Regions from separate parts of the Homo sapiens genome. Here all the other regions are linked to region 1. The links are contacts of gene promoters, found by promoter capture Hi-C in human tissues and cell types (Jung and others, 2019). All regions are on one chromosome and are shown on one strand. The core of a region is centred on a gene start or on the middle of the fragment in contact, and the rest is flanking DNA. Distances in the headings are between cores, read along the strand shown.

Region 1 (3,072 bases), core at 423-2,922:
AAATACAGCCCAATAGAGTAAAAAGCCCTAGGATAGAAAGTAGTGAAAGACTCATTAACAGTAGCGTTGACACATGGCTTCAATTGCAACTGTAACAATTGCATGACTGATCTGTTTGTCAACTGTGGCACGTGTTCCCAGTCAGGGGTTCTGCTAATTGAAAGTTAGAATCATAAGACATTTAAAGATTGTGCAGGAACAGCATTATTCGTACTTGGTACTAGAAAGCAGTAAACCGATTCTGACTTGGTTAAATTTAAAAATCTCTTTCAGTTGTAATACACAAGAACTTCACTGTTAGGCCGTACGCGGTGGCTCACGCCTGTAATCCCAGCACTTTGGGAGGCCGAGGCGGGAGGATCGATTGGGCCCAGGAGTTCGACGTCGGTGAGCCATGATCGTGTCACTGCACTCCAGACTGGGCGACAGAGCGAAACCATACCTCATTCGTTCATTCATTCATTCATAATTAATAAAATAAGTACAACGCACTTCTACATAATCTAAGCGTATGGAAATCCACGGTATAAACCGGTCCATCCTCCACATGGAAATTAACTTCGGCTATATTATCTCCTCCACCTAAGAGCCAGTGCCTGAAAGCCCCCCCGAATACGCTGATGTAGCTTTTTACTGTATCACTTAGGTGAAAAGATTCTTTCCTTAAATATGAAAAGAAAAACTATGTAGTAATGACACAAAAAGAATATGTTAACTGTAAAGTCAAGATTATGAAATGTTCCCGTGGCTCAGTTTTTTTAGGAGCAATCTGGAGCTGCGAATTTTCCCGTCGCCGCCAGCTGGACCGACAGACAAGGCTGGAAAGGGTTATCAACATACCTGGAGGAAGCTGCAAATTAGCAGGAAACTGGATTGTCGTGGTGTTGGGGGCTTTCACGGCGACTATCTGAGGAGCAGGCAGCCTAGGGCCGCTGCTGACTTTAGGAGGGGCGCTGACCGGAGCCACTTTGGTCACCAGGGTCCCCACGGGGGACCGCAGGGGCTGGGACGCCGTGGGCTCCACGCAGACGCTGACAGGAGCCTTAGTCACGGCGCCCAGGGCCACCGGAGTGCTCTCCACCCGCACCGGCAGCGCCCCGGCCGGGGCCATGGTCACGGTCCCCGAGGCGCTCACAGCAGCCGGGGGAGCGGCGCCGGCGGGTTCGGTGAGGCCGGCGGGCATCCCCCAGGGGCTCAGCGGCAGCTTTGGCGCTGCGGTTCCGGGAGCAGAGGTGAGGGGAGGCTTGGCGCGCGGCAGCCGACTCCGGTGCGGTTCGGGTTCCACAGCATCGCTGGGGAGAGGCGCGGGGGCCGCAGCAGCGAAGTCAGTGACGGGCGCCCGCTGCACGGCAGGACACGCGCGTCCCGGACCTTCCTCTCGTCCGCGCGAGCCTGGGCTGCCCCCGGAGCGACACCCGCCCGACCTCTCGCAGCTTCCTCAGCGGCGCTCACACGTGCGCTGCCTCAGCCCTGCGCCTCAGGCTCGGGTCCCGCTGCGGGGGAGCCTGGACTTGCGGCTCCCGGAAGGTCGTCGCTCACACCTCGAGCCTAACTGCGCAGCTGCTCCCCCGCCAGAAATTTCAAAACTACGAACCCCGAGTGCCCACAGCCCCCTACGCGCGATTGGCACGGCCCCGCCGCGCGGCCACGCCAGCCATGTTTATATAGCCACGCGGAGACCTCGCGCACGCGCCCAGGCCGCCGCCACCGCCCCGGGTTTCCCCGGGATCCGGCCGCGTGATTGGCCAAGGAGCGGAGCCGCGCCCGTGACGTCACTGGGGACGGCTCCAGGGAGCGTTAAAATCTTCCCCAGAATCGCCAGCAAGGAGGGGCGATGCCAGAAACCTATCACGTGGGAGGGGCAAGCTGCACTTGGAAAACTGCGGCATCCGTGTTCCTCTCCTTGTGTCCCCTGTAGTGTGTTCCTCGAAAAGCCAGCACTAGACTATCTCCAGGATTCTATTTTTTAAGGAGAAAATGGGGAGGACTGATTTCCGAGAAGAGTGACTCAATAAGAATTCAATCACGCATTTTCAGTGTTTTTCTCTGCTGTCTTCACACTGAAGCGTTGCTAAAATTCGCAGTTAGAATTGACATTGTAAAAATTAAAATGGCGTATAGTTTTATAGTCTGTGAGATGTGCCTATTTTCATATTTTAGAGTTAAACTGCCTAAAATCTTAAATGGAAAATCGTTTCTTCTTTGGTGCTGCTATAGGTGTCTCTATCACCTCTAAACATTAAAATTGTATGTCTGTCTTCTGAAAAACTTAATGCCTTTTGATATCTATATAATTAGATTCTAGCACTTAGATATTAAGCGTGATCCTAGATATTATCTGGATAAATAAAAGGTGTTGAGTGAATCGATATGAAAAAACTTGCCTGTTTGTAATGCAGTCAGAGAAGATGCCTTAATTTCAAGCTAAAGTCATTATATTGTATGTTTGTAGGAACCAACACTGCACTGAAAGGCGATTTTACAAGTAGGCAGATGCTATGATCTGAATGTTGTGGTGTTTTGTTTTGTTTTGTTTTGTTTTGTTTTGTTTTGGAAACAGGATCTAACTCTGTCACCCAGGCTGGAGTGCAGTGGCACCATTGGCTCATTGCAGCCTCCACCTCCTGGGCTCAAGTGATCATCCTACCCTCCTACCTCAGATTCCCGAGTAGCTGGAACCACAGGGGAGCGGCACTATGCCTAGCAAAAACGGGATCTCGTTATATTGTCCAGGCTGGTCTCCAATTCCTGAGCTCCCGCCTGGGCCTCCCAAAGTGCTAGGATTATACCCCCAACTGAGTGTTAAAATGCTAAAGCTGGAGTTGATAATATTAGAAGGTTGGGCCTTTGAAAGGTGATTAGATCATAAGGGTGGAGCCCTCATGAATGGGATTCCATTCAGGACAAATCATGTTAAAGTGATGAATATGTTAACTTGATTTAATTATTTCACGACACATACAAATGTAACATGATACCTCATAAATACATACAATTATTATTTGTTAGTTAAATACATTAAATAAATAATTTTTTTAAAAAAAGAAACCTCAGAAAGATCCCTCACCCCTT
Region 2 (3,072 bases), core at 303-2,802, 240 kb before region 1:
TGCCCAGCTAACTTTTGTATTTTTAGTAGAGATGGGTTTTCACCATATTGGTAGGCTGATCTTGAACTTCTGACCTCAGGTGATCCACCCACCTCGGCCTCCCAAAGTGCTGGGATAACAGGCATGAGCCATTGTGCCCGGCCTTAAAAAATTTTTTTTGAGACAGGGTCTTGCGCTGTCACCCAGGCTGGAATGCAGTGGTGCAATCATAGCTCACTGCAGTCTCAACCTCCCAGGTTCAAGCAGTCCTCCCCGCTCAGCGCCCCCGAAGTAGCTGGGGCTGCAGGCATGCACCACCACACTCAGCTAGTTTTTCATTTTTTGTAGAGACGGTCTCACTGAGCCGCCACAGGTTGATCTCAAACTCCTAGGCTCAAGCAATCCTCCTGCCTTGGCCTCTCAAAGTGCTGGGATTACAGGTGTGAGCCACCACCACAACCAACCTCTATTGTTTATTTTTAATAACATTTTAATATTATAGAAGAAGTACATGTACATTGTAGAGAATTTAAAAATATAGACAAACCAAAAAAAAAAAAACAAACTATACCGTATGTTCCCACCACTCAGACTGCCAATGTTAAAACATTAGTGAGTAGCCTTCTGGATCTTTTCCTGTGCTTATTTTGGACAATAACCTTTACCTTTCCATTTAAAAAAAATTATTTCCTCTAATTCCACAACTATATTTGAGTTTCCCTGCTTGACTCCACAATGCCCTTTACAACTTGCTGGAGACTGGGCTAGCTGTCCTGCAAAATGTCCTGCCATCTCGATTTGTGTGGTTGCCTTGTCATGTGTAGTTTAGCTCATGAATCTATCCCTTAATTTCCTGTAAACTGGAAGTCATCTCTAAAGACATGATGGGTTTACGTTAGACTTGTTGGGGAGAATACATCACAGTGATGCTGTTTGCTTCATACTACCTCACAGTAGCAAAGGCATGTGGTTGAGCCACCATTAATGATGCTAGGAATGAACTGATCATTGTATCAAGGTGAGTTGCATGCTCCTTAGGCTGCAATAAAAACGATCTCTGTCAAGCTCAAAGTAACATTTGGGGCCAAACAATTCTTTGTGGTGGGGGCTGTCCTGTGCAATATAGGGTTTTCAGCAGCATCCCTCCCTACCCATCAAATTCCAGTAGCACCCCCTTCCCGGTTGCAACAACCAAGAGTGTCTCCAGACATTGCTAAATGCCCTCTAGTGTCAAAATTACTCCTGCTCGAGAACCAGTTGTCCAGCTTAAGGAAAAGTTAAAGGGAGTATTGACAGGAAGCGCTTACTAGTTTATCTCATAGAATTAGTGGAAGCTTTCTCTCAGGGATGGAAACAACAGGACCGCCCTGAAGACTTAAATTGCAGGAGGTGCCATTAACATGTGCCAGTCTCAGCAAGCCCAGGGCCTCGTTCCCCTCCCTTGGTCCTACAGAGACACCATCTGATTGGCTCAGCTTGGCTCCATGCCTGTACTTTAGCCAATCAGCTGTGGCAACACACACATTGCTTCTAGGTCCTCATTCCTGCGGGTAGAACTTTCTCAGAGAAAGCAGAGTGGCGACCTGGATAGGCCCCCACTCGCCAGAGTTTCTTCACCCGTACCTGCGGGTAGGTCTTTCTCGGAGAAGGCAGAGTGGCGACCTGGATAGGCCCCCACTCGCCAGAGTTTCTTCACTGGTACCTGCGGGAGTGCCTACTCAGGACATGCCCCAGACCACGGCCTCAGCTGCCGCCACCGAGGCTGTATCCGTGGTCTGGTGACTAGCGCTGTCTGGTACTGCCCATGACCTCTTTTCTCCTCCCAAGGATATTTTCCCAGAGGCAGGACTGGGAGGATGGAAGAGCAGCCAGCCCCACCCCGGCACCATCTCCGATGGTGTCTCTGGCCCCCTCCCTCAGCACGCCCTAGACATCAGGCCTAGCTCCTGTGGTGTGGCGTCCTCGTGACTTTCCAAGCCAGGGTGTTGTTTCAGAATGCTGGTGGGCCTGCCTTCCGTCCCGCCGTCAGCACCCTGACACGGTCACCTGTGTGTGCTTCTGTCTGTAAGATGGGAGTGGAGACAGTGGCAGGGCGTAGACGGGACACTGCTGCTGCTTCCATTTCTTTCAGTAGCCATCAAGACTAATCCTAGTCTGGGTATCCTTGACCCAGGAAAACAAGAGTAGTCGGGAGAAGCTGGGAGTCAGTGCCCCTGGATGAGGAGGGGACTGCCTGGTGAGAACTGTCAAGTAGTGGCAGGAGAAAAGGGGCACGTGGGCCAGTCCCTCCAGGCTTTGAAGAAAAGAAAGAATGGGCCGGGCACGGTGGCTGACACCTGTAATCCCAGCACTATGGGAGGCTGAGGTGAGCAGATCACCTGAGGTCGGGAGTTCAAGACCAGCCTGGCCAACATGGCGAAACCCCATCTCCACTAAAAATACAAAAATTAGCCGGGCATGGTGGCGGGCACCTGTAGTCCCAGCTACTCTGGAGGCTGAGGCAGGAGAATCTCTTGAACCTGGGAGGCAGAGGTTGCAGTGAGCTAAGATCATGCCATTGCACTCCAGCCTGGACAAGGAGAGAGAAACTCCATTAAAAAAGAAATTATTCCAGCCCAAAGGAGTATTACAAGGCCAGGGCAATTAAGAGCTTTAGTACCCTAAACACTGAAAAAACTGCAGTGGCCACTCCCCCAACCTCCATCCCCGACAAGATAAACAAAATCTTTAAAACCAAAGGAAAGTAAGTGCTACAGAGATCTGTCTTTTGTTATGATGACCACTACTTGGTTGCTGTTTTGGAAATGGAAAAGGTAAAATCCTTTCATTTTCTTGGCACCCCTGCTTTGCTGGTGGTACCCCTGATACATAGGTGCCCTGCCTGCTAGGGAACCACCCACTGCCGAGGGTCCCAAGAGCAGGATCCCACTGCCCCCTAAGCCTGGGGGTGAGGAGAGCTAGAGCTCCTGGGAGGTATTGGAGACATTCCTCAGAGAAAAATCCTTTTTGTGCTCACGGTGCCTTCCACGGCATCTGGCACCTACACAGTTTTTAAAATGAAATGGGTGAACAGTTGAGTTGCCTTTTGAGTGT
Region 3 (3,072 bases), core at 247-2,746, 230 kb after region 1:
GTGGAATTAGTCTCTAAGGATGGAAGCAGTAACATGGTAGAACCCTTCTTAAGAATGTACTTGTAATTTGCAGAAATAACACTTTCAAAACCTTTCAGTGTATGGGGAATGCATCTCACGGGATCTAATCTCTCCCTATTATAGAACCATTATAAAGTTCTTTAAGTTTAAAAAGAAAAATGCCTTAGTTGTTTTTTTGTTTTGGTTTGGTTTGGTTTTTTTGATGGAACCTTGCTCTGTTACCCAGGCAGAAGTGCAGTGGTGTGATCTTGGCTCACTGCAACCTTTGCCTCCTGGGTTCAAACGATTCTCCTGCCTCAGCCTCTCTAGTAGCTGGAACTACAGATGCATGCCACCATGCCCGGCTAACATTTTGTAGTTTTAGTAGAGATGGGGTTTCATCGTGTTGACCAGACTGGTCTCGAACTCCCTACCTCAAGTTGATCTGTCCACCTTGGCCACCCAAAGTGCTGGAATTACAGGCATGAGCCACTGTGCCTGGCTGCTGTAGATTTTTTAAGCAGTTATAACAAAATAAGTTAGTGTCAGCCATTAGAATTATTATATGCACAAGGGAAAATACACACTTAGATGAAAAGGAAATTGGAAACATCATCATTACAACGAATAGTTTGTTAAAAGTGTGTGTCTCTGTATTCAGGTCCATTTCGATCTCTGACTGGACCATTTTTTCAGAGCTGTACTGATATGTAACTTTGAAACAAAATGTGGTTGATTGAATTCTCAGTTCTTTACCCTTGTTGGATCCTCACGACATGGATGGAGTATACTTCCATGCTCATGACTTTGGGCTTGTCCATAGTCCTTTCTTTGGCTAACAGAATTGGGTGAAAATTCTAGTTTTGAGCCTAGACCCATGATGTGAGCATGCCTGGCTAGCCCACTAGTCCAAGGAGGATGAAAGACACATAGAGCAGACACAGTCTTTGTGAAGCAAAATCACCTGTCTGATTCATAGAACCATGAAAACAAGTGCTTCTTGTGTGCCACTGGTTTTGGTGGCACAAAACCAGTGTTTTGCTTGTTATGCAGCATTGTTTTTGGCAATAGCTAACTAATACACAATTTTTTTTGTAGTTCTCAGTGTTCCTACAAATTTTCCACTGATTTTTCTTATTTTATTTTTTTGAGACAGTCTCACTGTGTCACCCAGGCTGGAGTGCAGTGGTGCAATCTCGGCTCACTGCGACCTCCGCCTCCCAGGTTCAAGCAATTCTCCTGCCTCAGCCCCTTGAGTAGCTGGGATTACAGGCATGTGTGGTGGCCGGGCTAATTTTTGTATTTTAAGTTGCGACAGGGTTTCGCAATGTTGGCCAGGCTAGCCTTGAACTCCTGACCTTAAGTGATCTGCCCTCCTCAGCCTCCCAAAGCATTGGGATTACAGGCATGAGCCACTGTACCTGGCCACCACTGATTTTTAAATTTGACATACCCACTTCTAATATGTTTTGTATTTAATGCTATGGTTTTTATTTTGTATAAGGATTTCTTGGTCTCATCAGAGCCCAAAAGAAAATTCATCCAACTTTGTTCTCACATATGCTGGTAAAAACAAGAAAGCAAGTTTGATTTTATTTTCCTCAAATCTCTATTTAAGTGTAAATAAACTTTGCCACTCTTTTAAAATTCTGTGCCAGGGTGATGACGATGAGAAATGGATACTGAAGTTCATAAAATGTTTCCTCTTTGCATTCAGTTTTCAGAATTCTCCTTATGTCATGTAGGTCTGAAAGGTTAAAAATAACTCTACCTCCAGAGACTTCTTGGGCTATATTCTTCCTTGAATGGATTCTCTAAGCTTTTCCCACCCAAACTGGGTCATCATCCTTGCCTAATTTTAAAATCTCCCAGATCCAGTGCTCTATAAAAATCAATGAGATCCTTCCCACCAGATAATCCCAGCAGCCACACATTATATTCTCTGGTCTGATTCTGCATGAGTTTGATTTTATATGCTGTATTGTAATAATTTATTAACTTGATAAAATCTGCTGACTCCTCATGGAAAATATTCTGTTTATATTTTATATTTCCTGCTGCTTTCTTTCCATAGCCTTTATTGTGGAGTATTTACATGAGAATAGGGCCTTTGTTTTTTAAAAGTTCATTTGTGCCTGCTGTTTCTTGTCTCCCCTGAAGTCACAGCCCTGTGTTTGTGACATACGTCGTGCTTTTCATATTGAATGCACTCAATGAACCCTAAATAGCTAATTTTCCCATCATGTCTGAGTTATCTAGGTTAGTTGAATTAGCCCTATTTTCCAGGTAGGGCAACCTAAAGAGATAGAGAAGGTGGTCATTTGAGGACATCTGAGTCCAAGTAAAGAGCCCTTGCATCTCTTGTACTAGATGAAGCCGTTCTCCTTGGTTACAGTTCATTCTGCTGGGTTATGATCATGTATATTATGTTAAGCTTACTCTTCCTCTGCAATATTGCTGAAGAAAAGGGAAAGGAAAGATGCACAATGTATGATGAAACTTCACTAATAAATAGTTACTACTACTATTTCTCAGGGTAGTGGTTTCTGAAAAACCTGTTGCGAAAGTGGAGGCAGTGGCTCTACGTAATACCATGTGTGCATGAACCAAGGGGTGAGTTCCAACTTTGAGCTCTCCTTGTCTACATGTTGTCTATACCTGGACCAGAACTTTGGGGTCAATTGGCAGATAACAAATTGAATCATTAAAAGAAAATCCAGTGTATTCATATTAGCCATTAAACTAGCTCGATTTATTCAGATTCTATTGATATGTTCACAGATTTAAGGATTTGCTTACTGATTTGTGATCAACAGCAGTGATGATTAAAACAAAATGTAAACAAATCTATGGAGCAGTTTTAATACTCAATTTGTTTCTGCAGAGAAAGATAAGTCATGCAGTTCTTTTTTTTTTTTTTTTTTTTTTTTGATATAGAGTCTTGTCCTGTTGCCTAGGCTGGAGTGCAGTGGCGCCATCTCAAGTCACTGCAACCTCTGCCTCTCAGGTTCAGGCAATTCTCTTGCCTCAGCCTCCTGAGTAGCTGGGATTACAGGCACACACCATCACGCC
Region 4 (3,072 bases), core at 190-2,689, 140 kb before region 1:
TCAGGTGCTTCGTACCTCATTCTCTGGGGGCTGCTGGAACCTGAGGCTGATTATAGGTATAGAAGCAATGAGAGGTGGTGAGGATAGGTCCTGAGGAAGATCAGTAGTCCCATGTAAGGCAACTTCCTTAAGGGAAGTCAATACAGGTGCTACAGGAGATTAACCTCCTTCAGACAGACAGGGGTAGAAGGACTGGCAAGGGTGGTTCAATAGAAATAGAACTGAGGAGTTCAAGATACCCAGTTTCATTGGAATCTGCTAATATCTCTCATGCAATTTTTAATTTTCCACTCTTTCCCAATAAATGTTGTACACTTTAACCCAAGAGATCTTACAAGATTGGAAGTTCAATCTGCGCTGTAATTCAGCCACCTGCAGGAAACAGACTTTGGGTGTGGTGTCCAGAAATCTCTGCCTTTGGCTACAAGACATAAGGATTTCTTTTAGGGCAATCACAGATGATTTCACTCCCTTATGTGGACTCTGAGTTCAGAATTTACAGCCCTTTTCTTAAGTTCTCCAGTGTACTTTGAAGGAACCAATCTATCTCATTATTATTGTCACTAAAATGTTCTGTGGTAATAAATACTTGTTCTCCCAAAAACTTGCCTTCTAAGGGCACTTAATTTCTACTGTCTACAAGTTTTGCCACTGTATGCCACGGACCACCAGTGTCCCTTTTACCACTAGAGACAGGATCATCATTGCTGTTAGATCTGATTAGACCAGAGAACCAATTCTGGAAAACCCAGAACTAATTCAGGAACCCATCTTTTAAGGTGCTACTCCTCTGCAGCTACCAATGGTATAAAGCCCTGTATTAGTTAGCATTTGACCAGAGAAGACTATAAATGATACAAAATATGGCATTACCAGAGATTTGGCCATGTGTAATTGTTAACCTAGTTAAACAGTTCATGTTCAGCTGTAACTCTGCATCTGGTGCTAGGTCTGGCCCACGGTTCAGAGGAGCCAAAAGAGAAGAGGAGCTAAGGAGCCCAGCTGCTGGGCAATGCCTGTGCCAGCCCATGCCAGCAACGCCTTTGAGCTGCAACAGCATCTGTTGTCCTCACCCTGATCTTCTAAGCAAAAGAATATGGCTGCAGTTTCACACTTACCTTTCAAAGTCAAAATGCTTCATGGCCCTTGCTAAGGATGCAAAAGAAAAAAGAAATCTGGGAAACAGTTCCAGCTTAGCTGGTTTGACACAATACAAGTCCAGCACACCATCTTTGTCTTAAAAACAGGTAACTTTCTTGGAGCAGTCCTGAGTCTTAACTTCTAACTCTTTTATCATTGCTTATTTCTTTCAGTATACCTTACATTTCCAAAGGGGTATTTCATTTTCCCCAACTGCTTTTCTTTCAAATACCCTTCTAGTCTAGTGTAACGGTTGCAAAATATTCCATTTCCTTTCTTTTCCCTTTTTTTTAGTTTCCTTCTGCTTCATGCCTTGTTTTTCTTCCATATTCTCCCTTTTATCTTTCACATAAAGGTTTTTCCTCAAATATCTGGCGATCCTTGCCAATCTGTTGTTATTTAAAAGTAATGCACCTGACTATTAGTATTTCAAGCTTCCTCTTTCCTCTCTTAGGCTAGTTATTTTTCTCAGAAAGAATGCCTCTAGTCACTAGTTTGAATCAACTCTCAAATTCTACTGAATACCCTTACTACCATTTTTCTCCTTTCTTCTTTGTTCTTGTTAATATATGTTTTCAGCCTCTCTATGTGGGACTTGTGAAAAAATGATAAGCCAATAATATGCAACTTAACATATTTCATAGTAAGTCCATAAAGATAGCTGACAAAGAGTCAACCTTTAAGTCTTTGGAAAATTTTAAAGACCAAACTAAAAATTCAGATTTATGTCTAGGTCATTTATGAATAGCAAGGCAGATTTGTTCATGAAGTGTGAACAAAACAGAATGTAAAAAAAAAAAAATCTTAAAATATAAGGAGCTGCTTTGTCTAAGGTAACGGCATGTTCTAAATTCTACTGAATCTATACATTTATAAAAAGAGTTAGATGACAATAAATCTGTTTAAACATCTAATAAGTCAGCTATAATAAACAAATAAGGAACCCTTTAGAAAACTGTGGTCCCCTGTAGCCTGGTAGAAGAGAATGGAGGTAAAGAGGGACTGCTATCTGTGCCCCTTAAGGAAATGCAAATTAAATCTGGGCCTTTCATGTGAATAGACTTTTAGTTAAATTACTTATGCACCTTTTCAGAGTGAAGAATCACCTGTAACAGCAACCAGAAACAGACAATTATCTTTAAGAAATACTGTTTGTCCCCAAAAGGTTTTAAGCCTTTGGGTTTTCCAAAATAATTTCAGGCTTAGTATTTCAATTATAATCTAACCCTATCCTCAAATGATGAAAACTAGCAAATATGGTAAAGAAAATGACACCTACTTAAGATCATTTAAATATCCATAAGAATTCAACCTGGTTCTCTATTTGAAAATGTACACATTTCTAAGTTATAAAAAAAACTATCCCTAAATGATTTTAATACTTAAATAAATGTTTTATAATCTAAGTATTTCTCACATAGGGTATTTTAGAGGTTGTTCAACACTTCTACACCATATTTCCATGTAAAAACAGAACTTTGACCTTTGAAGAGAGCACAAAGGAACGGTAGAGATGCAATAAATAAAAAATTGCAGTGACAAACATTTTTAAGTGATTGATCATATCTACTGCTAGCAAGAAAATGGAAAAATAGGCACTCAATCAGCAGTGGAAACTTTTGGAATGCTTTTGGTAAGCATTATGAGTGTCTATTAAATTTTGTGCATGTCCATGGACCCAAAAGTTCCACTTCTAGAAATCAATCCTGTAAAACAAATGATTACATGAAGATAAAACAGGATGCTCATTATTTATAACAAACAAGTGAAAATATTCTAAATGTCTATCAGTGGATATGTAACAGTATGGGAAAATGTCTATGATGGTTAATTTTATGTGCCAACTTGACTGGGCTAAGGGTTACCCAGATAGCTGGTAAAACATTGTTTCTGTGTGTCTATAAGAGTGTTTTGGGAAGAGATTAGCATTTG

Evidence for each region. Contacts are between HindIII fragments. The study calls those that stand out against the background at their distance.
Region 2: a fragment that was not itself captured here is called in contact with the fragment with the promoter of TAF4B in region 1 in 1 of the 25 tissues and cell types used here (dorsolateral prefrontal cortex).
Region 3: a fragment that was not itself captured here is called in contact with the fragment with the promoter of TAF4B in region 1 in 3 of the 25 tissues and cell types used here (lymphoblastoid cells, spleen and thymus).
Region 4: a fragment that was not itself captured here is called in contact with the fragment with the promoter of TAF4B in region 1 in 1 of the 25 tissues and cell types used here (spleen).

Annotation. Positions count from the first base shown.
Region 1 is chr18:26,225,045-26,228,116 of GRCh38, reverse strand. It overlaps TAF4B (TATA-box binding protein associated factor 4b), which reads right to left and starts at 1,672. Exons shown (of 15, transcript NM_005640.3): 1 at 841-1,672. The coding sequence starts at 1,183. RefSeq lists a silencer at 1,033-1,192 and enhancers at 1,843-1,942, 1,973-2,042. The HindIII fragment of the contact is 12,633 bases long and covers 1-3,072 here.
Region 2 is chr18:26,464,605-26,467,676 of GRCh38, reverse strand. All of the region lies in intron 3 of KCTD1 (potassium channel tetramerization domain containing 1), which reads left to right. Among named protein-coding and RNA genes, the nearest start is that of LINC01543, 43 kb to the right of the region's middle. The HindIII fragment of the contact is 4,660 bases long and covers 1-3,072 here.
Region 3 is chr18:25,991,843-25,994,914 of GRCh38, reverse strand. No RefSeq gene overlaps it. Among named protein-coding and RNA genes, the nearest start is that of SS18, 97 kb to the left of the region's middle. The HindIII fragment of the contact is 6,784 bases long and covers 1-3,072 here.
Region 4 is chr18:26,367,582-26,370,653 of GRCh38, reverse strand. The region is part of intron 14 of TAF4B (TATA-box binding protein associated factor 4b); the gene reads right to left. Among named protein-coding and RNA genes, the nearest start is that of LINC01543, 54 kb to the left of the region's middle. The HindIII fragment of the contact is 3,920 bases long and covers 1-3,072 here.